6 separate regions of the Homo sapiens genome follow, and all the other regions are linked to region 1. The links are contacts of gene promoters, found by promoter capture Hi-C in blood cells and fetal thymus (Javierre and others, 2016). All regions are on one chromosome and are shown on one strand. Each heading gives the region's core, a stretch centred on a gene start or on the middle of the fragment in contact. The rest is flanking DNA. Distances are from core to core; before and after follow the strand shown. Region 1 holds the start of SLC9A9 (solute carrier family 9 member A9). Region 2 has its middle 290 kb from the start of LNCSRLR. Region 3 has its middle 310 kb from the start of LNCSRLR. Region 4 has its middle 340 kb from the start of LNCSRLR. Region 5 holds the start of TRPC1 (transient receptor potential cation channel subfamily C member 1). Region 6 has its middle 880 kb from the start of DIPK2A.

Evidence for each region. The method cuts DNA at HindIII sites, captures the fragments that hold promoters and counts their contacts. A CHiCAGO score of 5 or more calls a contact.
Region 2: a fragment that was not itself captured here is called in contact with the fragment with the promoter of SLC9A9 in region 1 in 1 of 17 cell types (endothelial precursors); the score reaches 5.7 in endothelial precursors.
Region 3: a contact is called between a fragment that was not itself captured here and the fragment with the promoter of SLC9A9 in region 1, in 1 of 17 cell types (endothelial precursors). The highest score is 6.0, in endothelial precursors.
Region 4: a fragment that was not itself captured here is called in contact with the fragment with the promoter of SLC9A9 in region 1 in 1 of 17 cell types (endothelial precursors); the score reaches 5.6 in endothelial precursors.
Region 5: the fragment with the promoter of TRPC1 here is called in contact with the fragment with the promoter of SLC9A9 in region 1 in 5 of 17 cell types (total B cells, total CD4 T cells, activated CD4 T cells and 2 more); the score reaches 14.3 in total B cells.
Region 6: a contact is called between a fragment that was not itself captured here and the fragment with the promoter of SLC9A9 in region 1, in 2 of 17 cell types (M2 macrophages and M1 macrophages). The highest score is 9.9, in M2 macrophages.

What each region holds. Positions count from the first base shown.
Region 1 is chr3:143,845,779-143,850,351 of GRCh38, reverse strand. It overlaps SLC9A9 (solute carrier family 9 member A9), which reads left to right and starts at 1,884. Exons shown (of 16, transcript NM_173653.4): 1 at 1,884-2,204. The coding sequence starts at 2,030. The HindIII fragment of the contact is 4,941 bases long and covers 372-4,573 here.
Region 2 is chr3:145,773,373-145,777,945 of GRCh38, reverse strand. No RefSeq gene overlaps it. Among named protein-coding and RNA genes, the nearest start is that of LNCSRLR, 290 kb to the left of the region's middle. The HindIII fragment of the contact is 2,533 bases long and covers 600-3,132 here.
Region 3 is chr3:145,757,013-145,761,585 of GRCh38, reverse strand. No RefSeq gene overlaps it. Among named protein-coding and RNA genes, the nearest start is that of LNCSRLR, 310 kb to the left of the region's middle. The HindIII fragment of the contact is 2,120 bases long and covers 1,194-3,313 here.
Region 4 is chr3:145,730,393-145,734,965 of GRCh38, reverse strand. No RefSeq gene overlaps it. Among named protein-coding and RNA genes, the nearest start is that of LNCSRLR, 340 kb to the left of the region's middle. The HindIII fragment of the contact is 1,388 bases long and covers 1,840-3,227 here.
Region 5 is chr3:142,721,507-142,726,079 of GRCh38, reverse strand. TRPC1 (transient receptor potential cation channel subfamily C member 1) reads right to left here and starts at 2,046. Exons shown (of 13, transcript NM_001251845.2): 1 at 1,349-2,046. The coding sequence starts at 1,520. RefSeq lists an enhancer at 628-1,494 and a silencer at 1,753-1,802. The HindIII fragment of the contact is 1,344 bases long and covers 1,376-2,719 here.
Region 6 is chr3:144,850,437-144,855,009 of GRCh38, reverse strand. No RefSeq gene overlaps it. Among named protein-coding and RNA genes, the nearest start is that of DIPK2A, 880 kb to the right of the region's middle. The HindIII fragment of the contact is 835 bases long and covers 1,442-2,276 here.

The sequences.
Region 1 (4,573 bases), core at 635-3,134:
GGTTAAAAGAGTGAAACTGGATGTCACGGATCAACCAGAGAATGTTTATTCTACTCAGATGGAATAATTGTGATAAAAGAAAACCAAAGTAATTCAATAATGACAAAAAACAAAAGGACAGGAAGTTTCTGAATTTGTGTTATCTTGTATATCTGACAACTCGACTGAACCTGTGGAGTTGCAAAATCATAAAGGTAGAACCTGCTAGCAAAGCTCCATGAAATGCTTGCAAGCATTAGCTGATAGGTTTCAAAACAGTATGAATATTAGTCATCACAGATATTCCTGCCAAAAAGGGTAGCGTGTCAGAAGAACATCTGCAGCACACATAAATACCCTCTGCTAAGTTAAACTCAGAGAGGAAATAAGCTTCCAAAGTTGCACAAAGCAAAGATGCTGAAACAGCAGAGCTTTGTATTAAGGGGTTGATAGACTTGCTCTCATGGTGAAACTGTTTGTTGAGGAGGTAGTTAGCTCCCAATAATATTACATGCTTGACCTTTAGCTTTTAGTGACAAAAATTGTTTCAGGACGCATTTGGGCTCAGCCTACTCAATAAGAAATCACATTGTATAAATTGAGCATTAATTGTGTCAAAATGGGGATCATAAGTGATTAATACTCCCAAATTACAATGATATGGTAAAATGAAAAAAAAAATCAGCTAACCCCAGGATATACCCAAATGTGTTATAGGATCAAGTGTTAAAAGCAAGCAGGTCATAATATTTGCTAAGAAAAAAGAAAGAAAAGGAAAAAAAAGCTGCAGAACCCATGGTATTATCTTGAACTATTTTAAAGTAGAAAAATATGAAATCAGACAGGAGCAACCTGCCACATGGAAGATGATCTGAAGAATCATCACTCTTATGATCAGAATCCTGTGAATACAGAGCTTTCATTTCTGGTGGCAGAACCATTTCTCAGTGAGCAACATTGTTTTGCCATAGGACAGAGGAGGTTGTGATCTATTGCAGATTTCTGTGGGTCCTGGATGCCGAGACCAGGAACCCTACAAAGAGAAATCCATGCATGTGGCGTTGCTGAGGATGGCTGCGTGAGTTTCTCTTTCGAAGTAATGTGTTTTGTTTTTTTTCTTTTTTGTCTCAACGTATCCAAACAGTACAGTTGTAGAGATGGGGATGGAATTTTATTTGTCTTTTGCTTTCATTGTTTTCTCTTGTTAAAAGAAAAACAATTGATTTAGAGTTTAAAGGCTGCTCTGCAACTATCAATTATATAAAGCCAAATAGAGTCATATACTAAATCCTTTCTTGCTTCTCAACTAAAAAAAAAAAAAAAAAATCCTGTGAAATCACTTTAGGTTTGCTTAACCAATGTACAGTCATGATTTGAGAGCATAAGAAACCCTATAAGAAACCCTATGCCTTAAGTGAATCCCATTGTGAGATACTTGAGCTATGAGGCGGAAGTTTCAGGCTAAGCAGTGTAATATCTTTTCAGGAGGCTAATATGCTGATCCATTTAGAGCACAGAGGCTGATTGATAACTGTGCTATCAATCCCCATCACTTTGGCAGGTCTTGGTTAGAGAGGAAAGATCTTGCATTTAGGTGAAGTTGAGTCAGGAATTGGCTTTTTGAACTTAGAAAACGTTGCTAGTGTAAGGCTACCTTTTTTATTATTAATCTACAGTTCATATTTATGCAGCTTAAGAAGACTTATTTGGAATAATAAGACCGTGATTCAAGATCTTAGCATCATTGCTTGCAGATTTGTCCAGTATGAAAGATATTTTCATGAGATGAATCACTTAAAGACATTAAGAGTCAGTGATGAAACCACACACTCTCGAGTTTGAAAAGAGACAGGGCTGCTTTAAGAGAGAAACAGGAAGTTGTAACTAGAAGCCATCTGAATACTAAGCCAGGGCAGAATGCTTGTGAAGTAGCAACTAAAGTGGCAGTGTTTCTTCTGAAATTCTCAGGCAGTCAGACTGTCTTAGGCAAATCTTGATAAAATAGCCTTTATCCAGGTTTTTATCTAAGGAATCCCAAGAAGACTGGGGAATGGAGAGACAGTCAAGGGTTATGTCAGAAAAGGATGAGTATCAGTTTCAACATCAGGGAGCGGTGGAGCTGCTTGTCTTCAATTTTTTGCTCATCCTTACCATTTTGACAATCTGGTTATTTAAAAATCATCGATTCCGCTTCTTGCATGAAACTGGAGGAGCAATGGTGTATGGTGAGTGCATAAATTGTGAGATTGATGTGAAACTTGTTGCTTGAGCGTAATTAGAGACTTGTGCTCAGATAGCAAAGTACCGAAACTGGAGAAAATGTGCTGATTGAAATGTCATTAGTTTGATGAAAGGTGCTGCAGCGTAACGAATGCTAATCTCTTTACAGACAAGCCGCCGAAATTTGCCATGTCACGAGAGCAAATGTCACAGTCATGTTCTCACACGGCACATAATGCAAGTCTGTTGACAGATGCGGGTCCATTGTCATGTGGGGAGTCGAGGGCGAGCTGTTTGTTTTTGTAATGATGTTGGGAAGTGATGGCTCTGCAGTCACAAAGAGCAGCCTTCTCTCACTGGCTGCACCGATGAACATTACGAAGTTCTAGAAAAAACATCACTTCAAAATGCCTGGAGTAATTCCTCTTATATCAACTAATTTCAAGAAGAAAACTTGCAGAAACTAACCCCACCCCTCTTAAGAGAATATTGTGTCCAAGTCCTTTTTATTTATACGAACAGTGTCTTATTTTCTTATAATAAAAAGTTATAAATAAACGAGAGTTTCTTTATGCAGTACTTTTTACTTCTTAGCCTGATTTCAGATGTTCTAATTTATAATGATCATTGCTAGTGTTATTTGTTATGTATCTCCTATTTATGTATTGGAGGCCAAGGTGTGGAAAAATATTTAACACCTGCAGTATTGCTCTTTCTGGGCAACTTACCGTATCATTCCTTTCAGAAAGTTTAATAAAGTCTGACAGAGATTATCTGTCTGTACTCTCATCTTTTAAAGTAAAATGAAAGACACCAGTTTTTACTGGTGTTACTGATGAAATAGTTTACTTCACTGCTCTTATCTCAGCCTGATAATGGATAGGAAGTTTGAACACAATGGCAACAGGCAAGGCATTGCTATAATTTATAGCAAATAACATACTTTTATATTTGGGGTTTCCTCATTTTGGAAATCCTGAAACCCTTTCCTAAGCCTGAGATTCAGGGTACAGATCAATGCACATTGTATATGCTAATCCTGTGGTGTCCTGATATTAACAGTGTATAGTTGTGATTTCAGAACCTAAGGAATCCTAAGCCTTAAGTGGATCCCACTGTGAGATACTTGAGCTATAAGGCGGAAGTTTCAGGCTCAGGAGGCTGATATGCTGATCCATTCAGAGCACAGAGTTAAATTCCTTGGTACTGAGGGTCTTTTAAAAATTTTTTGCTTGGGAGTGGGGAGGGACAGCATTAGGAGATATACCTGATGTTAAATGACGAGTTAATGGGTGCAGCACACCAACATGGCACATGTATACATATGTAACTAACCTGCACGTTGTGCACATGTACCCTAAAACTTAAAGTATAATTAAAAAAAGAAAAAAAACATAACCCAAATGCAAAAAAAAAAAAAACCTTTTTTTGCTGTATTGTTTTATTTATTTTTTAAAATTTAGTGGAGACAGGGTCTCACTATGTTGCCCAGGCTGGTCTCCAACTCCTGGCCTAAAGAGATCCACTGACCTTGGCCTCCCAAAATGCTGGCATTACGGGCATGAGCCACCATTCCCAGCCAGTATTGAGGGTCTTAACGGGCACAAGAAAACTCTCATTTAAGAGAAAAAAAAAATCACAATCAGGTGGGAGAGAAATAGCCAAACAAAAAGGAGGGGATGCCATCAGATGTGAAGCCCTAGGTTCCTGTCATTTGCCTATCTCCATCATGAACAGAATTTTTCTCTTGACTTGACTAATAAGTAATCTGCAAGGATATGGAATAGAATCTGAGAAGCCAGAAACAATGTAATTCTTGATATCATATTAAAGGGACATATGTGCTTTAGCAAAACTACCCAGATTTAATAGATTGCCAACCTTTATTAGAGGGAAAGATTTCTTCACATCCCTGAATTTGATTGAACTATGACTCATTTACCAAGTTCAATGGTGGGGATATTGTTTTCGTAAAAGTTTTGATAACCTACTAAAATTCAGTCATGTTTTGCATTCACAATACATACAGTAACTCTTACTTTTGAATCTGAAAAATTCCAGGTTACCTTTAATCCTGCAAAACTCTCTGAAATATTTTTAAATTGTGCTTGAAATAATAAAATAGTAGTTCATTGACCACTGCTATTGAGGTAGCATTTCTCTAAATTGCTGTTCTTAAGGCAGATAAAGGCTTAAAGTTTATGAGTGGAATTAAGTTGGGTTCTCTGATTCCTATTCTTCTTTCATGAGTTTTTTAAAGTAAAAGTTATTGAAAGCAAATTCTGAACCAGTGCAATGTAAAAGGATTATAAAAATTATGGAGATATGCATATATATGTATTCTCTTACTAGAAATTTTGAGTATCTTTCAGTT
Region 2 (4,573 bases), core at 617-3,116, 1.9 Mb before region 1:
ACCCCAGCCCAACCGACAGTTCAAGACTTCATCTCAAAATAAATAAATAAATGCAAACAAAATAATAATGATAATTCTTGAACTTTGGTATATAACAAAATCACTTAGAAGAAGGTCTGGCCTTCTTTGCATTTTTACCAAGTCCCACAGGTGCTTCTGAATGCCACCCAAGTTTTAGAAGCACTGGCTAATAGTGCTTCTGGCTAATATGCTAATAACTTACACTTTTAACTAACATGCTCTACAGTTTCCAACTATATCTGCTCTTTCAAATCACTAGGATATTTATATAGTTTCTAAAACAAATATCTAAATCACTCCTTCCTCCTTTGAACAAAATGTACTAATGGTCTCTCATCATTTAGGTTTTTAGTTAACTCTATTATAAAGAAGTTTGCTATCGATGTTAGATAAAAATGTAACAAATATATGTTGTATTTTGATGAATTGTCACTGTAAGTTTTCTTATAGAAAAAGGATGAAAGTATTGTAGAAGTCATTCCTATATTGGAAGTGGTGTTTAAGTCAGTGAATTGCCAGATGCCTGCAAACTGTCGTGTCTACAGACCTGTGAGACTATGCACGGCCTCTCCAAAGCTTGAAATACAATACAATGAACCTTGAATAATGTCCTGCCCTTAAACACTGGACATTCAAATAATTTGCACTATTAAGAGTATAAAATAAAGATAAACATTAGCATTAGTAGTTTAACATAAAAACAATCTACTATACTGCTTTTCTGAATGGGTTTTTCAAACGAGATTTTAGGTTTCTATAGAAGCAGGAGTTTCAGCCCTCAAACTTGAGCCAACTAATTTTCTGATGAGACACTAACAACAACTACAAATGTAGTTAAAATTTTCTCTTTCTGGCCAGAAGGAATTTTTCCTGTATTTGGAGAAGAAAATGATGTTCAGCTTGTGGACGATTCTGAAAAGGCTCTGAGTAATGCTTAGGGACACATGACTGTAGCACCCCCTGCTGATGACTTCTGGGATTAAAGTTCATGTGATACTGGTTTCAGCTCCATGATTCCTCAAGTCATTTCACTTTGCTGGTGAGACAGAAAAGTAATGTTATCTCAACTTGTCTTATTCAACAATTAAATTCTATTAGTTTTACATTGAAATTCTAAATCCTAAGATTTATTGGGTTATTGATAATTTTTATCACCTGTTGGTAATCTATTCATTTCATTCATCCATTCAGCAAACACTGAGTGCCCACTCTCTGGCTGTTGATGTTTTAGTTGTATGAGATATAGCTGTTAACAAAACGAACTTACTTCCTTCATGGGGTTTACATACTGGGGTGGAGTGGGGGAAGAGAGGGTTAAAGATAGAGAAAGAGGGAGGAAGGGAGAGAAACAGGGAGGAAGGGAGAGGGAGAGGGAGAAACAGAGGAAGAGGGAGAAAGAGGGAGAGGGAAGGAGAGAGGAAGAGAGAGAAGTTGATATACAGCATGTCAGATGATGATAAGCATTATGGAGATATTAAAAAGAAACAAGGTAAGAAGAAAAGCAAATGCAGGTGAGGATTGAGAAATTCTTTTTTTTTTTTTTTTTTTACAAGATGGTCTTCATTTTATGAGATTTTTCTTCCCACACATTGAAATAATTCACTAAAAACAAGCAGTCCTCCCTCAGCAATTAGAGTAATAATAAGTCCCAATCAGAAGTCAAGCACAGAGGGGAGGCAGTGTTAGTCATGGGAGGCAGATCTGTTAACGGAGGGACAAGGCATATTTTTGGAGAAACTTTTATATTCAAAATCTAACAATCTTTACCTAGCATCAGTACTAAATTTGAAGAAGTACATGAGACCAAGTTCCTTTGTTCTATTTATTGTTTCAAAATCTGAATTGTTTGTCACTTACAGAGCAAGGAGAACAGAGCACTGTAAGAATGATCTCAAGGTCTTTGTGATCATTGTTACAAGGTCACAGCTGTTTGCACATTGTATTTCAAAATCTGAAAGTATGTTATCACAATCCCATTCTTAACATGAACACATCTACCCAATGGGTGGGGAAGGACTTTAGCTGTTTCTCTGTTCCAGTCCCCTGCCCTAGGACCACCCAGCTGGCAAGGGCCACATCCTGACCATCTCTTGTGGTCAGAGCACAGGGTGACCACATTTATGGAGCTCAAATGAGCCAAGTCTCAAAGCAATGGAATGAACAATTTGTTTCCACTTATGTTAAACCAGGGAAGAAAAAAAATCATTGAATACATTAAATAACATAGGTCAATAGAAAGAAATGTATTTCAAAAAGGATAGTCTGTTGCGAACACAAGATGACAGCCATAGCTTAGGACGTTGACTGCCTTCAGTTCCCCTGTCTGCTCTCCCTATCAGTGCTACACCCAGGGTCAAACCCAACTCTAGATCAATCAAGGGTCTGCCTTTTCAACATCTACACCCATGCTGCTATGTATGCTCAAGAAAAATCACACACTTTTATGGGATTAGAAAGTGACAAACGTATGATCCTCAAAATAGCCTGGAAAATTCTCATTGTGTTTCTAGTCAATTCCATCTCCTATTTTTAACTTTGGCTTCTCTTCTCAACTGCTGACCTTATCACAACCCTTCCCTCAGGAGAAGAGCTAACTTTTTATTGCAGGCAGAAAAGAGAAAATACCTGATTGTTATTCCCTAAGCATCCTATCACCTATAAAGGTATCTGCATCTACTTAATCCTTCCTAATTCCTTCCTACTTTAGTGGGAAAGGTCTTCTCCTTGCTGTTCAAGGATGATCCTTTCTCAAGTATTCCCGTATTCTCAGTGACATGGCACCATCCTTCATCTATTCATCTCTTCATTCCCTTTGCCTACTGGCTTCTAAGGCTCTATGAAAATAATAAGTCAGTGGGCTTTGGAGAAAACCTGTAGAGAGTTCCTCTCAAACTCAATTTCCTCATTTGTCAAATGGGGATCAGAGCTCCTCTCTTACAGTGTCTTTGTAAGGATTAAGTGATGCAATATAAAAATCACTTGGAGCACAGCAAATATTCCAGAAACCCGACAGTTTGTGTTACTCCTGTTGCAGTGTACTACCAATTTATTTGTAATAGTCCTTTACAAAGCACGTTTACATGCCTTTCCAATTCTATCCTTACAAAAGCTTATAATATAAGCAGGACAGATCTAGAAATTGATTCAAAGTAATAAATTTTCTTTCTCAAGGTCACGGAGCTAGGTGGTGGTGGATTTAGGACTCAAAATAAGATTTTCTGAATCCTGCCTGCTTCATTGCTTGTGCACCTACATTTACTGCCTTTTTAGTTTTTGAATCCTTATGGGAAGTATGCTATCAGTTGTGGATTTGGACTCATTTGAACTCAGGAGCTAATGAACTGCTTTTGTTATAAAATAAAATTGTATTTCTCTGTGCAGATATCATTTGTGTTTTTCTTTGTATCGTGGATTACTTACAAGTTTGATGTTCTTTATGTATGCAAAGTGGGATAGGCATTAAGTGCATTACCTGAAGCAAAGACTACAGCTGTGTGAGGTTGATGAAACTACAATAGATTTCACAAAGTGCTTTTTGTGAACAAAATTCTAAACACTTATGACAAAGTCTATATAACATATGGTCTAGCATCCATTTAAATTTGCAAATGTAAAACATGCACAAAGAGGAAATATGTGAGTTTTATTTTCTTTCTCAGTCTTTTTTAATAGACTCCAGGTTTAAAGGAATTTGGGGAATTAAGTTAGTTCAGTTTGCTATTTTCAAGATTATATATGGGTCACCTGAATTTCAAGATACTTCATAGCTTGTGTTAACAACTTACGTCAGTATGAAATAACTTTATGGACATGGTTTCTTTATTTCGTTTGGGGGAGACAGAACTGTATATTTCTTGACCTTCTAAAAAACTGAGATAACAAATGAATACTCAGGAATATGTGTCATGGTACTGGCATAAATTAATGTTAGAGAGCAGAATTCAAAGAATTCTGGGAGGGTTAGGATTGCTACGGTTGAAGAAAACTGCCTTACATAAGATCATGCCTGATCGTAAGGGCAGCCCACATCCAGTGGCCAATAAATGGAATTGTATAAAGGCTTGGCCTTCTTGCCTCAATTCACAACTGCTCTGAAGGATGTCAAAGAGAAATACTTAATAGCACTAGACGCTTATTAAAAGTGGCAAGGCTGATTTATTCAGCCTTCTGCAGTAGGAAAGAGACACTCCATTAAAAACTATGCTCACTTCCAACTAAGACAAAATTAACTAGGAGAAAATAGAGAGAACAAAAAAGGGCTATAAGGAAGTAAAATAAAGTAACTAAAGGGGACTGGGGGCTATGGGGAAGTGAAAAAATATGTGATGGGGGATAAGTGGAAAATTATTGAAAATCATTTGGCAATGTACATTGGGACAATGTGCACTTTGTTACATTTTCTTGAGCAAAGACTCAGCCTAGGGGCTGGTGCCACCTCTAGAAATACCACCTAGGGGAGGTAGGAGTCAGGCTAAAGTTTGGCCAAGTCTCTCAGCACTGTGTTCAGGCAGGTCCTTTGTGCCACCTGGAAGTTCACAGTCCACAAGGTGCA
Region 3 (4,573 bases), core at 1,004-3,503, 1.9 Mb before region 1:
AGACGTAATTTTCAAACTTTATAAACTTAGGTTAACTGCATTTATAGAAATGAATACAATATGGAAACTGCATATATTGCCATTATTTTAAAGTTATATTGAGTTACAATGAGTACATATTTAAGTACAAATAGAAAGTGATCAAATGGCATAGTATTTATTGCTATAATCTCAAAAGGTTTAACTTTTTTCTTCAATATATGCAGAGTTAAATACAATGAAACTCCTATAAAATAATGTTTCCCTATGCCACGGGTTCACTTATATTAGGAATCAATTGTGTGATGCACTGAAAATAGCAAGGGCTTTCAGAGTTAAACACATTGTAGTGTGGAACTCAAGTATAAATATGCAGGTTATGTACTCCTGTGGAAGCTACTTGGCCTCTTTGAACCTTAATTTTCCTATCTCTCAAAAGTAAGAAACAGAATGAAATCTATGATCCAATATTACTTATGCAAATTAAAAACACATGCATACAAAATAGTACTATATATTAACAAAAGCAATACCTATCTAAGGTGATGGATGAAACACATTAAAAGAAATGCTATGTAGAGAGAAAAGGGAATATGGATCAAAGATGAAGTGAGGCAGTAAAATGAAATTGGATGCTTTTCTCATACCAGTTATGAGAGTGCACTTTAAAAGCAAGTATATCATTATCTCACCTCACTGTACCAGTGTTAAAAAGTTAACATTCCCACAGTTGTTGGGATAATTAGAAATCATGTGTGAAATCCACTGAGCATATTTGCCATACAGTGTAAATTAAACAAATATCATATTTCTTACTGCTGAATATTGCTAAAGTTATTGTATTTTACAATAGAACTTTGAGTTTTGTGATGTACTAAAGGCTATTTTTTTTTGGAAAAGTCTTCTGTACAATTTATTTGAAATTAAAATCACATAAATTACTGATTCATTGAAAAGCATCAGGCCGCCTCAAATTATATAAATGTTGGCAAAATATGACTAAAATATTTATTCTTATTTATCTATTGTTAAAGTTGATGTATACCTTCAAATTGGTAATTGGTATCAATTTTAATGAACATTTTTGGAAATATTCAGCTAGTGCAATTTTGTGTATAACTGAAACCAGTCTAAGTGAAAATAAAGTCTTTTTCCCCCAACTTTCAAATTGCTAGAAAAAAATGGGCAAAATAATACGTAAATAGAGAAAAGCTTCAATACTGCAGACTCATGGTCAGTACCATTATGTATAAAAGTGCACTTATTTTTCCAACTTGCAATTGTGTTGTGCAGTGGGAGAATAAAACTTTCTATTGAGTTGAAATCTTTTGTTCTCCACCATCCTCTTCCTTCCTGGCTGATAGATATCTGAACTGATAGTGCAAATTTACAGTAAGTATAAAATATTCAGTTCTTCCTGAACTAAATGAAATAATTGGACAGAAATCCAATTTCTTAATAGAACTTCTGATTATAAGCCAAAATTCAGGAAACAGCTGCTATCCTGTAAGAATGAGAAAATAAGAAGATAAACAACCCCTACTGGTAGATTTTTTAAAAGATACTATAATTTTAAAAGAATAGAAATCAGATTAATTATTTCCCTTGAAAAAAGTAACTGAAGAAACATACAGAAAAATTAGTTTCAAATGGACAGAAAAACTATTTTAGAAAATTTGTAAATTATTTTACCAAATTAGAGAATGTGCATTTATGAATCTAGGATGAGCTAAGATTGGTAAGTAATATGTGAAAACAAATAAGAACAAAGAGAGAAAAATGGTAGTGGTTAAGTTAATAACTAATAGAGGCAGTACGTGCCAACTGGATATTTCAGAAACTTGGCTAAGTTATATGCAGACAGACCAGAAAAATGTACCAGACTTCAGAGAAAAGTGATGAGGAAAATATAAGACACAGAAAACACAATAATTCCCACCAATGTTGTTAAAGGAATTACAGAGAGATAGAACAGAAGAGATAAATTTGAATAAAAGAACCATAGATGAAACCCCATCTCTACTAAAAATACAAAAAATTAGCCAGGCGTGGTGGCGGGTCCCTGTAGTCCCAGCTACTCGGGAGGCTGAGGCAGGAGAATGGCGTGAAACCGGCAGGCGGAGCTTGCAGTGAGCCGAGATAGCGCCACTGCACCCCAGGCTGGGCGACAGAGCAGGACTCCGTCTCAAAAAAAAAAAAAAAAAAAGAACCCTAGAATGTTTCTCTTAAAAAACAACAAATATCTTATTTTGAAAATTCAGAATGTGTATTTTGTCTAAAGGTACCTTTATAAAAAAAACTCTATTAGACAGAAATTTTACATTTTTGTGAAATTGGAAGCAGTTAGAGTGAAAAAAATGGGTAGCCACAGAGCTCAAATATGAGGTTTTCCTAAGACCTGTTTGCAAAACTATACAGATATTAAAAAACACTATCTTCAGAGATCTAACTTTAATATTTTGTGACCCCCAGAATGTGACCAAAAAGTTATCATTAATGTAAAAATAAAAACACACACTCTCTTTTTCTATATGTCATTTCTTGAGAAGTTATAGCTATGAACAAAAATGTATATGCTCACTGTAGAAATAGTTTATAAAGTAAGAAATAATAGGCAAGTGGCAAAACAAGAGTTAGCGTATTAATTTAATTAGATCTTAGGTAGATCTCAAAAATGTTTAAGAAGAATTTGAAATGACCTGAGAAAGTGTATGTGTGGGTATATGCTGTGTATTGTTTACTTTTGTCTAGTTTTGAAATCATATGACCAGATCATACTGTATATATTCTTCCATAACTGACTTCTTTGGCTTAATATTCTGATGTTGATGGGATAAAAAGGTGACAATGAATGCTATATATAATAATATCTATGTTATGTAAAATCAGATCAAAATAGATAAGATCAATTTCTTTGGTTGAATTAAACGTGTTTTTTATTTTTGTATTAATATTTTAAATATTTCCCTCATTTGTATGTAATGTGATGACTAATGCTTAAAATTATTTTATTTTCCAAATTTTAAGTGGATTTAAGACATATTCAGTAAATTCAATCTGAGAAATTGGTCAATCAACAATATTGATTTCCCAAGTTTAGAATATCCAGATATAAGGGAAGATGATTCTGTATTCACTTCATATTTAGAATGGCACTTTTCCCAATATCAACTGCATATGATTTATACATAGCTTTTCCCCTTCCCATATGACAGCAAGTTCCATTGCAAAATAATTTTAAAATTCAATTTCAATAAAATAATCATTGAACAAAAATGAGAAGAGTGGTGTTGAAAAAATTCATTGTCTTTTTCAGATTATTTTATTCAAAGCTTTTAAAAATACTGTATCTTGAATTTAAGATTTAAACTACAGTTGAAATTATTTTTTAAGCCAGTTTAAAATAAAATTAAATATAAATGTTCATTAGTTTACTCAAAAGAATCTTTTATTTTGAACCAAATTTGCATTTATACTTCTATGTTGTTTAAGAAATCTTTTGCAACCTCAGTGCCATGAAGGTTTTCTCCTATTATTTTTTTCAATATGTTTTCTTTGGTCACATTTTAGGGTTTTAATCCATTTTGTTTCTTTCATATGGTTTGATAATTTACATTCATTTTGTTTCACTTATGACACCTTAACTTTTCCAATACTATTTATTGAAAACCTTTTCTTTGTTTCTGTTACTGAAATTCCAGTTTTGTGTATATATATATATATCTTTGGACTACTTATTCTGTCCCATTGATTTTTCTTGTTTTTGTAATAATAGTAATTAGTGATATTAATATAATTGTGTTACATAGTAGAGAAAGTTAAGGACTTTTTCTTCTTCCAAGACCATCCTACCTATCCTTAGACATTTTTGTGTCCAATTAAATTTTAGAATTTGTCAAACTCTACTGTTAAAAATATGGGATATTTTTGAGATACTGTAAAATCTTTAGATTGTTTTAAGGATAATTTACATGTTTATAAGTGTGTCTTCCGATCCATGAATATTTTCTTATAGCTTTATTTATGTAGTTTCTTAATGTCTTTATATGAAGTTTTATAATTATTTTATGGAAGTCTTATATATATATATACATTTTAGCTTTATTGCTGATTACTTAATTTAACTTGAGCCTATTATAAATGTTATCTTTAAAATTATTTTCTAAATCTTCTTGCTCCTGGTGTTTTGGCTCCATGAAATTATATTTCAGAGTTCAAAGTGTCAACTTGCTATCTAACTATTTTAAAATTTTATTGAATCACACATACAAACAAAAAATGCAGTGCAACTCACAAATGTAATGAATGTTTACCAACAGAACAAATCTACAAAATCAATACTCAGACTAAGAATCAGCAGCCAGATATTTCCCTAATTCTACAAAAGGAAACGAGCTGATTTCTAACATCATAAATTAGTTTTTTGACTGTTTTTAAACTTTATTTAAGTAAAATCATGAACGAGGTACTCATGATGTCTGACTTATTTTGATTAACATCATGTCTTCCACATTTGCATTTATACTGTGTTCATTTGCATTGCTCTATAGGATTATATTTGAAATGTATGACAGTTTATCCATTCTACCAAAGA
Region 4 (4,573 bases), core at 1,284-3,783, 1.9 Mb before region 1:
TTAAACCACTAAACAATAATACTTAAAAGATAGCATGTCATTTATTATAAATAGAAAAAATAAAACATATTTAGCATGCAAGTGTAGGAGAGGCAAATCTTGACCTCTACTCTCTCAGGGTCTCCAGTTCGGTTAAATTGACATAAGACAGATTAACAGGAGAAACCTAGTTCAGGCCATGATAGAAAGGAGGATTGGACATGCTTTATTATACTTTCCTCCCTTTGGAATTCAGGCACAAATTTCCAGCATTAATATTAAAACAGGGATCTTAAGAATGACAAAATGGACTTTTTGTAGCAATAAGATATCACATTCCAACCTGACTCTAGTATAGCATCACGTGACAGATAGCAGGCCCTGTATGAAATCAAAGTATCTTACCCCAAAATATATCTTATTAATAGTTCTACTTGAAAACTGATTTTAATGTGGCCCTGAGATGAACAAAATATCTGTTTCCTAGATATCTCTACACAAGTGTAGAGCTATCTGGGTGACAGAACAGGATCCTGTCTAAAAAAAATTAAATGAAATTAAAATTATAATAAAATTAAAAATGTAAATATTTATTAGATCAGAACAAATAAATCAGTGATTTTGACTATACAGTAATTTTCTAAAAATATTGGCTTAATTTATGGTTTCTGGAAGGGTACAGGTAAATATGTAACCATATGCATATTTAAAACTACTAAATTTATATCAATCACAGAACACCTTTTTATGTTTATCTAACATGGTGCTCTTGAAATTTTGAATTATATAATGATCATTTTTGCTATAGCAGCAGTGTTTTTCATTCACTAAATCTATTTTGTATTGTTACTTTAATTGTATCTTAAATTTAATGAAATTATTTAGCTTAAATTGTAAACAACTGTTGTTCTGGACTTTACAAAATGAGTACACATTTATTTCTAGAAGTTGTGGAATTCTTGTTAGGAAGATATGGAAAACCTTCCATCAAAACATTACTGTCACTGCTGATTATAGCAATGAGCATTATAAGGTATACCGAACCACATGACTGAAAAACTTATGGCCAAATAAAGACAGAATGTAATATTGATCAAAGAGCTGTGAACTAGATGGCAGGACATGTGAAACGAAACCCAGTCATGCTATCAGAAAATTGAACTGAGTTCTTTAGGTTTTAGATGGTTCCTGTTTAAAAATGAGAACATTGAACTATTTAATCAGTGACATCTTCCAAAATGATAAACCTGGAATTTACTTAATTTTTGTAAATTATCTCATGTGATGAAGAAAATTCACCTTGACAATCATTTTTAGATTTTGAAAGGTAAAATGTATGAATCTTATAATTACATTAGCAATTGACAAGTTGGTATGTATCCTAAAATAAGAAAAAAAATCCCACAAAATTCTACTTTTAACTGTGCTGCCTAAGCATCTAATTATTCTCCAATATTCTTATTTCTATAACACTTTAATATCATAACCTCCATGTCGACCTACTCTTTTATAATTCAGAATAATGCAATTTTAATGTATGTATTATATAAAAATTGTTTGTATCTATGATGTAGATGCAAAATACTTATTACATTGATATTCTCCCCTTTCTAAGGATCTCACAGAGCTATATCCATTCATGAAACAGAGAAAAACAAGATACATTCAAACAAATAATCATGTTTTCCACAGTGTCAAACAGAAAATCAAATATAAAAAAGTATAAAAACAAAATTCCAGTTAGAAAAACATTTATTGTTATATAATCAAATATGTTCAATGGAAGAATCCAGTACTATTGTTTAACAAATTTCATCTTCTTGAATATGTTTTCAATTATTTGTAGCATTCAAACAAGCTTCTATTCAGTCATCAACTTTTCATTCTTTCTGTTTAATACTGCTTGCTTCTTTCCTGTTCTCATCAAATACAGTATTCAAACACATGGAAAGGTGATTAACAAAAACTGAGTGAAAGTTGGCTAAGTATAGAATTATCACCAAGTTAGATATCATTAGAATGGAAAATTAGTAACTACTTCTAAAAAGCAGCATTGTAGATTTACATGCAAATGTGAATGGTTTAATTCATCTAATTCTATAACTCTTTAAACATTTTCATGATAATCCAATGCAGAGATTTTAATTATACAACATAGTTTAACAAGTTATTTTCTTGGTGCTGTTTTGCAAAGATAAGGCAAGAACTTTGTTTTAAGGCAGAACTCTGAAGTTGTGTTCACGTTACAAATAAATTTTCTTATATATATGTATTCTAGTTTCTTTAAATGTGCACATCTTCGATAGTTTTAAATTGTTGTAAATCATATCATACATACAAAAATATAAATATTATATGTGTATGTTTCAAAATAATAAAAAATTTTCACGCTCACCACCCAGCTTATAGAAGTGCAGTATATATATCTTTAAAGCCTTCTATTTACCTCTCTCCAATTTTGTCTGCATTTCTGACTCCCAGTTTCTGAATTTTGTGTTTATCATTCTCTTGCTTTTCTTTATAGTGTTATTGTGTATCAATGCATCCCTAACACTACACTGCTAATTTGCATACTTCATAAACTTTACAGAAGTAGAATTGTATTCTGTGTATTATTCTGTGTTATGTTTCTTTTATTTAATATTGTGTTTTCTATTGTTACTGACGGATGAGGTGTTTATCTAAGTTGTATTGCTGTTTGCTATCCCATTATGAATGCTACTACATTTTATGTATCTATTCTCCTGTCAAAGAGAATTGGATTATTTCAAAGGCTGGCCCTTCCAAATGGTGCTGCCATGAATCCTCTTGCGCTTTTCTTCAGGGCAAACAGCTAAGAATGGAATTGCTGGGCCACATGATATTCACATCTGTAGATTTGCTAAATAATGCGAGGTTGTTTCTCATTATGGTTACATAAATAACTTCATCCACTAACAATTGATGTATTTCAGTTATTCCACACACACGCTAAGAATTTTTCCATGACATTTTAATTCTTGGTATCTGAGTGTAGAATTTTTACCTCATAATTTTATTTTCTCCCACTTACTAATCACTTTTCATATTTGTGTTTTCTCTTCCGTGAACTATTTCTCTTGTTTAAGAAATTCTTAGACTTGTTTACTTTCTCTCTGTATCTGTTTCTTTTTCTCCCATGCATGTTTTGGAGGCATTTTACTTTCTAGTTCACCCAACTGCAGTTATCACCTTGAGAACTACTTTTCCTGGGAGTCACTAACCAAGCTTGGTCTAGGATACTAGGCCTTGTCTTCTGTGTGCCCTTTTGTGTGGTGGATTTGAGTCAAAGCCTTGAGCCACCATGTATTACTGGTGGTTCCAGCTTCAGCTCCTACTTAGTTCTCCATAGTAATGTATTTTCATTCGCTTTAAAGGATTAAAAATAATGATAATCAGCATTTTTAATTGGATTATACCTGGAGGTTGTTTCAAGCTACCACTTTTCTAGAAGAAGAAATTATTTGATTTATCTTATTCAGAAATAATTCACTTGGTGCAATATCCATAGATGAAGAAGGTTGTGATATCTGTGTATCCAAGTTTTATTTGTATTTATTTATGTTCTCACAATATCATGTTACCTGTAACTAAGTTAAAATGTCTATGTTTGTCACATCCTAATAATTCCTTACATGGTGGTATGCTTGCTCTGTACTTTGCAATACTACAGCCCCTTCTCTACCACAGTTGTTAAAATTGGTAGTATCTGACTCAAGAATAGCTAGCACCTTAGCTAATCTTCCCATTAGAATGTGGCCCAGTGTAAAATCGCCACACAAAGAAACACAGGCCTTATGAAGACCAGTTAGAGATTCTATCTTATATTTGATCTGGGCAATATAGTATCTGTCAATTGTTAGGTGTGTATTTGGTAAAAGTGAACTGAATGAAGCCAAATCTAAAAGAAAGAACAGTTACATAGAGAAGACAGTGAGTTTGTTAATTACATCAGGAAACAGATTTGCAGAGCAGACACTGGCAAATTACAAGAGAGAATAAGTATTTCTTAACTTCTACTCTTGAAGGTTTGTTAAAGATAACAAGTTTCCTGGAGCTTCTTTGTAAAGGTGAAAGGGCACCCATGTCCAATGCTTGAAAGAACAATTGTATTAGAATGTGGAGGAGTGCTGTATGCAGGAAAGGACCAGACCTTTTTATTTCCAGCTTATTATTGATCAATAATTTAGTAAATCATAATTAAAATGAAATACTTGAAAACTGAGATAGAAAACAAATAAGCAATATGCAAGGTCATATTTTTAAAATTAAATTCATCAGACAAAAGTCCACTCTTTCAGGTTCCTATAAAAGTCTAAATGGTTACCTCCATATTCCTGAACTCATTTAATTTATTAGTCACATTGGCAGAACTTGCACTGGCTGTGGACCACACTGTAAAAAGTACTGGTTTAGAGGAACTCACCTGTTCTTTCCCTGTGCTTCTACTTCTGCGCAAGTAGGGAGGAGTGGGGGCATTTTTATCTTCTTGCCCCAAGTTTTAGCATCTCCCCCATGGGGCTGTCACTCTGTCTACCCTTCTATCAAGCTTCATCAGTTGGATCCAAGAAAAGAG
Region 5 (4,573 bases), core at 797-3,296, 1.1 Mb after region 1:
TACATAATCCACAGACCCTATTTTTGTGACGTTGTAGATGTATATTCTGTTTCTTTACATCTCAAAGACTGCTCAAAGTTGTGTCCATGGTGTACTTTAACAATATTATTAATATTGCTTTCATAATATTATTTAATACTATTACATAAGAACATAAAAATGGCTCAACCACAGACATAGGTGGACTTTGTTTATATGTCAATTGTTTTCAAAAAATCATGTAAATAAAATCCTATTTCAAAAGCAGGAGGAGAGGTTAGGAAGGCTGTCATTTATTAATTACACATTCACACATACAAACAAACAAACAAAAATCCTGTGTAGTTAGTCTTTTCATAGTGTAAACTGCCCTTTGGGTTTGTTCCAGAAGTTTGCATGTTTCTAACAGAGTTTTCCTAAGTGTACAGCCATATAAATTTGGAAAAAGAAAAATTTTAGTGTTTCCATGTAGGAAACAAAAGCAGTCTTAGGGCAATCAATTTCCTATCCCTTTTGTTATATACATCACTACAAAGGATGATTGCGTGACATGGCCTTAATATGGCCATAAAAATGATTAACTTCTAGACTAAAAAAAGGATAACGCGCTAAATATATTCCACATATTTTTGCCTTGTAATTCCTGTAATTATTTTTCACTATCTTTATCTCCCAAAGAAAGATCTGGGAGCAATAAATCTTTCTCTCCAATAAAAAGCACTAACAATCAAAGGCGTTCCGTAAATCCAGAGAAAGTTTTGGCAACTAAGGCAGAATTTCTTCCGTCCCGTCCTTACTTCATGTATCTCCACCTAGGATATTCCGTTATTAATGCCAGTCAACAGTCACTGGCTAAAGCACTGGTCAGGTGAAGCTAAATAATAGAGGGTCTGGTTTTGTTTTTAAGAAAAACAAAAACCAGGTGATGAGAACCCTCCATACGAGGCATCCTAAGGTAAGGTGACGGAATTTTCCGACTGGAGTGTCGGAAACTAGCCTCTCGACTCCCGGAAGGAATGAACTGCGAGCCAGAGAGAAGACCAGGTCATTCATGCGGTCAGTAGCAAGGGCGGCGCTAAAACGCTGGGGTCGGGGCTCCCAAGGCGCTACCTAAACCCCGGACCCCAAGGCCAGAGCCACCCCCGACGGTGCAGCGCTCCGAGGGCGCAGCCCCAGCTCCACTCTCCCGCCAGCTCCACACTCACAGGGCAGAGGCGGTGAGGAGAAGACCGCCTGAGGCAGCAGGCGAGGCGGGAAGACACTCGGCGCCTGAGACAGAGGGAATGCCCCGATATAAGTTGAGGCGGGGGAGAGGACTAAAGGTCTGGAGGACAGGGGCGTCCAGAGGAGAAAGGGGCCTAACTCTCACCCTTGTCGCACGCCAGCAAGAAAAGCTTCTCATTCAGCGTATTCTCCTCCTTCACCTCCCGCACATCCTTCAGCGCCATCACCTCGTTCGGCGAGGAAGAGGATGGAGAGGAAGGCAGGGAGGAGGAGGAGGCGCCCGAGAGGTCCGTGCTCGGGTACAGGGCCGCCATCATCGCGGCCCATGAAGGGGGCAGGCCAGGAGACGGGGGCGGGGCCCCCACCGGCCCCGACCCCGACCCCGACCCCAGCCACGCCCCAGGGCTGGAAAAAGGATGAGTCGTTCCCACTGCTGCCTCGGCTCGAGGCCCGTTGGCCCCGAAGGGCGTCGCCTCCCCTGAGAACCAGCACTCGCCCTCCACTGACAGCCCCAAGTTGGTGGCGGCGCATGCGCGGCCCCGGGGCCAGCGACCCCTCCCCAGCCGCCGGCGCCCCGGCCGAGCCGGTCCGCGCCCGTCCGGGGACGACAGTGTGGCGCGCGCCAGGGCGGCAGCCGAGCACGGGGCCGTGCCAGGAGTCGCAGGGGCCGCGCCTGGGGCGGCCTAGCCCAGGAAGAGGACGAGAGATCTGTGGGAGAGGAGCTCCAAGAGGCGCTTCTGCGCACGTTGGGCTCCAGGGCTGTGGGAACCGCTGGCCCAGCTGCGCTCCGAGGAGATGTTCGCGACTCTGTCCTCACGTCATCCTCTGCTCCTCTGTAGCGACGACACTAGGGAGGAGCCTGCGGCAAGGGCGGGCTTGGGTGGGCGGGGCCTGCGGCAAGCGGGGCGTGGGTGGGTGGGGCCTGCGGTGGGGACGCACTGGGCTCCTGGAGCCCGCTGCAGCTTCCTTCGCTCTGGTGAGGTGAACCGCAGTCTGAGGAAGACTTCGCTCAATCGTCCCTTTCCACACCCAGGGTACTGGTTTAAGGTAATTAAGCAAATATGGAGCAGTATGTTAATTGAGTCTCTGACGACTTAATGTTTAGTCGAAATCCTTTGTGGAATTGTCCAGCTATTTCATATTCTGGTGCACTATGCTTTAAAGCACAATGGAGAGCCAGACTCGTGGGTTTGTATGTTGTACTCATTTTAGGCTGGAAATGAACTCTCATTTATAAAGGATATATAGATATATAATTATATTATGTTTAAATAATTTATACAAATATATAAATTTTTATTTCCATATTATTTCCATAGGTTTTTGAGGAACAGGTGGTGTTTGGTTACATGAGTAAGTTCTTTAGTGATGATTTGTGAGATTTTGATGTACCCATCATCGAGCAGTATACACTGAACCTAATTTTGTAGTCTTTTATCCCTCTCCCCCTTCCCAACCTTTCCCCGAGTCCCGAAAGTCCATTGTGTCATTCCTATGCCTTTGCATCCTCAAAGCTTAGCTCTCACTTGTGAGTGAGAACATACGATGTTTGGTTTTCCATTCCTGAGTTACTTCATTTAGAATAAGAATAATAGTCTCCAGTCCCATCCAGGTTTCTGCGAATGCCATTTATTCATTCCTTTTTATGGCTGAGTAGTATTCCATCATTATATATATATCACATATATATATACCACATATATATATATATATATATATATCACAGTTTCTTTATCCACTCATTGATTCATGGGCATTTGGGTTGGCTCCACATTTTTGCAATTGCGAATTGTGCTGCTATAAATATGCATGGGCAAGTATCTTTTTCGTGTAATGACTTCTTTTCCTCTGGGTAGATACCCAGTAGTGGGATTACTGGATCAAATGGTAGTTCTACTTTTAGTTCTCTAAGGAATCTCCACACTGTTTTCCATAGTGGTGTACTAGTTTACAGTCCCACCAGTAATGTAGAAGTGTTCCCTTTTCACCGCATCCACACCAACAGCTATTATTTTTTGATTTTTTTGATTATGGCCATTCTTGCGGAAGTAGGGTGGTACATACGGCATAGCAGTTTTGACTTGGAATTCCCTGATCATTAGTGATCTTGAGCATTTTTTCATATGTTTGTTGGCCATTTGTGTATCTTCTTTTGAGAATTGTCTATTCATGTTTTTTTGTTTTTTCTTGAGACAGAGTTTTGCTCTTGTTGCCCAGGCTGGAGTGCAATGGCGTGATCTTGGCTCACCGCAACTTCCGCCTCCCAGGTTCAAGTGATTCTCCTGCCTCAGCCTTCCGACCAGCTGGTATTACCGGCATGTGCCACCACACCCGGCTAATTTTGTATTTTTAGTAGAGACAGTGTTTCTCCCTGTTGGTCAGGCTGGTCTCGAACTCCAGACCTCAGGTGATCTGCCTGCCTCAGCCTCCCAAAGTGCTGGGATTACAAGCATGAGCCACTGCCCCCAGCCCTTTTCATGTTTTTAGCCCAGTTTTTGTTAGGATTTTTTTTTTCTTGATTATTTGTTTGAATTCATTGTAGATTCTGGATAGTAGTCCTTTGTCAGATGCATAGATTATGAAGATTTTCTCCCACTCTGTGGGTTGTCTGTTTACTCTGCTAACTCTTCCCTTTGCCATGCAAAAGCTCTTTCATTTAATCAAGTCCCAGCTATTTATCTTTCTTTTCATTGCATTTGCTTTTGGGTTCTTGGTCATGAAATCCTTGCCTAAGCCAATGTCTACAAGGGGTTTTCCGATGTTATCTTCTAGAATTTTTATAGTTTCAGGTCTTAGATTTAAGTTCTTGATCCATCTTGAGTTTATTTTTGTATAAGGTGAGAGATGCAGATCCAGTTTTATTCTCCTACGTGTGGCTTGCCAATTATCCCAGCACCATTTGTTGAATAGGGTGTCTTTTCCCCCACTTTATGTTTTTGTTTGCTTTGTTGAAAATCAGTCGGCTGTAAGTATTTGGGTTTATTTCTGGGTTCTCTATTCTGTTCCATTGGTCTATATGCCTATTTTTATGCCAGTACCATGCTGTTTTGGTGACAGTAGCCTTATAGTATAGTTTGAAATCAGGTAATGTGATGTCTCCAGATTTGTTCTTTTCGCTTCATCTTGCATTGGCTATGCAGGCTCTTTTTTGGTTCCATATGGATTTTAGGATTATTTTTTCTAGTTCTGTGAAGAATGATGGTGGTATTTTGATGGGAATTGCATTGAATTTGTAGATTGCTTTTGGCAGTATGGTCATTTTCACAATGTTGATTCTACCCATCCATGAGCATGGGATGTGTTTCCATTTGTTTGCCTCGTCTGTGATTTCTTTCAGCAGTGTTTTGTAGTTTTCCTTGTAGAGTTCTTT
Region 6 (4,573 bases), core at 610-3,109, 1.0 Mb before region 1:
CATTGTAAGCCAGGATGATACGTTTGGAGCTTGTTCTAATTTTGAAAGACCGCTGGAGTCTTTAGAGCAGAGGAGTTACATGATCTGATACATATTTATGTATAATATTTTATGTACAATATTAATATCATCTTATCTGCCATATGGAAATTGTATTGTAGAAGGATCAGAGGTTGGAGCAGGGAGAAAAAAAGTTAGCAGGATATTTCTGAGAGGATGGTTTTGCTCTTTATTAGAATAGGCTAAATGATATGGAACAAATTTAAGGGGAAAAATCAAGAGCTCCATATATAAGATGTCATTAGACAAACACATGAAGATGGCAAGAAGGCTGTTTGGTATATCACTGTGGGATTTCAAAGAGCATTTTGCACAATTATGGTGTTTAAAGTCACAGGAGTAGATAGATGATATAACCTGTGGACATTGTGTAGGTAGATGGAAAGGAGAATTGGGCCCAGGATTGTGGGCAGAGGATTACCTAGGTGCCGAGGCAAGAGACTGAAGGCACAAACTGTTTCAGTATAATAAAGAAAATAGTTAGAATAAGAATAGTCATAATACAAATTAGATATAGAGATGATCATGAAGAATTATCAATCATTATTATAGACATTATTAATCATTAGCTTTTAATATTACTCTTTGTTGCATTACTAATATAACCTAGGAATAACCGGCGGGTATAGGGTCAGGTGCTGAAAGGACATTGTGAGAAGTGACCTAGAAGACAAGAGGTGAGCCTTCTGTCACACCCGCAAAAGGCCACTTGAGGGCTCCTTGGTCAAGCGGTACCACCAGTGTCGGGGAAGGCACCCATTACTTAGCAGACCGCGAAAGGGAGTCTCCTTTCCTTGGAGGAGTTGGGGAACACTCTGCTCCACCAGCTTCTTGTGGAAGGCTGGATATTATCCAGGCCTGCCCGCAGTCATCTGGAGGCCTAAAACCCTCCCTGTGATGCTGTGCTTCAATGATCACACTCCTTGTCCGCTTTCATGCTCCTCCCGTACTCCTGGTTCCTCTTTGAAGTTCGTAGTAGACAGCAGTAGAAGAAACAGTGAAAGTCTTAAAAGTCTTTGATCTTTCTTATAAGTTCAGAGAAGAAAATGCTGATGTATGCTGCCTTCTCTCTCTACCTTGGCTACCTAAAAGGGAAGGGCCCCCTATCCGGTAATCAGGTGACTTGCTTCACCTTGTCAATCACTTAGAAGATTCACCCTCCTCACCCTGCCCCCTTGTCTTTATGCAATAAATATCAGCAGGCCCAGCTGTTCGGGGCCACTACTGGTCTCCGCATCTTGATGGTAGTGGTCCCCGGGGCCCAGCTGTTTTCTCTTTATCTCTTTGTCTTGTGTCTTTATTTATTACCATCTCTAGTCTTTGCACACGGGGAGAACACCCGCTAAGCCCCGTAGGGCTGGACCCTACACAGGATAAAGCTTTGATTTATTTCAACTTTTAGAGTTAAGGAGGAGAAGTCAAGCAAGGCGAATTAGAAGAAAATTCCAGTGAGGTAGTAAATAAAGAAGTTAAGAGTGACTGATCCTCCCAAATCTTTGAGGTCATTTTGCTAAGTGGGAGAACAGAAAAATGGGGTGTATTAGTCCGTTCTCACATTGCTATAAAGAACTACCTGAGACTGGGTAATTTATGAAGAAAAGAGGTTTAATTGAACCACAGTTCCACATACTGTACAGGAAACATGGCTGGAAAGCCTCAGGAAACTTAGTCATTGCAGAAGGACAAAGGGGAAGCAAGCACATCTTCACAACAGAGAGTGGGAAGGGCTACAGACTTTTACACAACCAGATCTTGTAAGAACTCACTATCATGAGAACAGCAATGGGGATATTCCCCCCATGATTCAATCACCTCCCACCAGTTTCCTCCCTCAACACTGGGGATTACAATTCAACACAAGATATGGTTTGGGACACAGACCAAACCATATCATGGGGCAATAGTTTAAGGAAAATGTAGGGTTAAGACAGGGTTTTTTACAAGATCAGAGATACTACAGTAGTGCTGTACATACATCCCATAATATTGATGGGCAGAATTCAGTAGAGAGACAACCTAACAGAGATATCTTGAGAGAATAAATACAGAATGAAAGTCTTTGAGAGGTGAGCATAAGTAAGAACTGCAGTACTATCAGGGGGTTTGACACTCAGGGGATTGAGGCTATCCACTCCCTGGCTAAAGAGAAGAGGCAAAGAAAACAAAGAACAAATATTTTCAGCCCTTGAAAGACATTCTTGCTTGATCCTTAAGCTTGCTAATTCTATTTCGATCTTCATCTCTCTTATTTGCCAGAGTATCAAGAATCTACCTAGACACTGGCTAGAGTTTATGGCATTGCAATATAATGGACCACCAACTATGCCTCCTCTTTCACAGGAACCCGCAGGTGCTGTGTTTAGTAAATGCCTTTACCTATTTTTTTTTTCCTCAAAGAACCAGACATTTTCAACCTGTGAGTCCTTTGTGTGTGACAGATACTAATATAAGTAAAAACAAAGACAAGAAACGATTTTAAGCAATTTCACTCATCGGCTCTCTCCAGTTGCCTAAAGGAAGGAGGTTTTTGACTCGGGGCCAGCATTAATTGAACCTTGTTATGCCTGTAGAATTTAGAGAGTGAGAACAGCAGGAAGCTAAAGGTATTGAAGTAGTGCAGAAGGACTATGGATTAAAACAAGGTAAGACAAATCTGTGAAAGTGAAATGGCAAGAAAAGAGCAACAGTTTACAGAATATGGATTCTGTCAGGAATTTGAAAAGCAGAAGAAAACAAAAGGGAAATAGAAAATGAAGCAGCTACAGTGATGAGAGTGATTTTGGATGGAGAAACAAGGGCATGAAACTTCCACAAAGACCCATTATATTTTGAATACTTTTGGAGTCAGCCTTTTGTTTCTTTTAAATGTGATACCATGCTGATCTCAAGACACTCAGTTTTATTAAAATTCGTTTAATTGTTCTGCATTTGTTTAACACACACTTATACAATGCCTTAAGCATGATGCTGGGTGCTGTTTGAGACCCAAAGAAAGTAAAGTCCACCCTTGTCCTCCAGTAGCGCCCTCTGATGATGTAAACAGACATGCATGTACATTGCCTTGTGCAGTGAACATGTACTGTATGGTACTTTCTGATACATTTTAGAAAGAATTAGGTATGCGATCAATCAATTCTTATGGAAGTACAAAAAAAGTCAGAATTTCCTTTTATAGAATTGGGTAATTCTTCAGAGTTACTTTTATTTTATTTTATTTTATTTTATTTGAGATGGAGTTCTACTCTTGTTGCCCAGGCTGGAGTGCAATGGCGCAATCTCAGCTCACTGTCACCTCTGCCTCCTGGGTTCAAGTGATTCTCCTGCCTCAATCTCCCAAGTAGCTATGATTACAGGCACATGCCACCACTCCCGGCTGTATTTTGTATTTAGTAGAGATGGGGTTTCATCATGTTGTTCAGGCTGGTCTCGAACTCGTGACCTCAGGTGCTCCACCTGCCTTGGCTTCCCAAAGTGCTGGGATTACAGGCGTGAGCCACCATGCCCGGCCAGAGTTACCTTTTGAGAGAAGATAAATAGTCTCAATATAAGTTTCAATTTAAATCAATATTCATGGTAAGAAATTTATCCAGAAGATGGAAACATTCCAAGTGGTTATTGGTTGATTAGTTCTTGTCTACAGGCATCATTTAAAGGCTATGTTTCAAATGGCATCTAATAACCCTATTATAAACTATAGTATTATAAACATAGTATTATAAACTACGTAATCAGAAAATGAAAATGGTCACTTTAGGCTTGATGCTGTTTTTATTCAATCAAGAGCATATTTAATGATTACTGGTTAAAAAAACTATTTTTAAAGGCTAAGACAAGACCCAAAAGGTCAATTCTATTTTTGCTGTTAACTTTTGAAGGATTTTGCCTCTTTACAAGACGTTGGCATTGTTTTCAGAAATTGGTCTTATCTGTACTATCTAATATAGTGTATGTATATGTACATACATATAGATAGTACTTACCTGTACTAATATAGTGTATGTATATGTATATATAGTGTATGTATATGTATATACATGTATATATACATACACTATATTAGATAGTACAGATAAGACAAATTTCTCTATATAAATTTATATGTATAAATTAATATAATATAAATTTTATATATTATATTTAATATAATATAAATATATATAATAAATATAAATGTGTATATATATATATATATATATATATATATATATATATATATATGTAGTCCCTCTGTAAGGGAAGGCTGTGACTAATGCATTTTTATATCTGTTTTGTTCACTGCCTTCTCTTTGAGTCTCTTGTACCTAGAATAGTAGTTGACATACAGTAGAAGCTAAATAAGTATTTATTGAACAAAGGACTTGAATCTTTGTATCCCTCACATTGTATGGTATAATAATGCATTGCCCACAGAAGACTCTCTAATACTAATTGATTTAAATTGATTTCTATAGCTCTAACTGGTCATATGGGTAGAGATGGATGTCAATACTTAAACACTGCAACCATCTCTCTT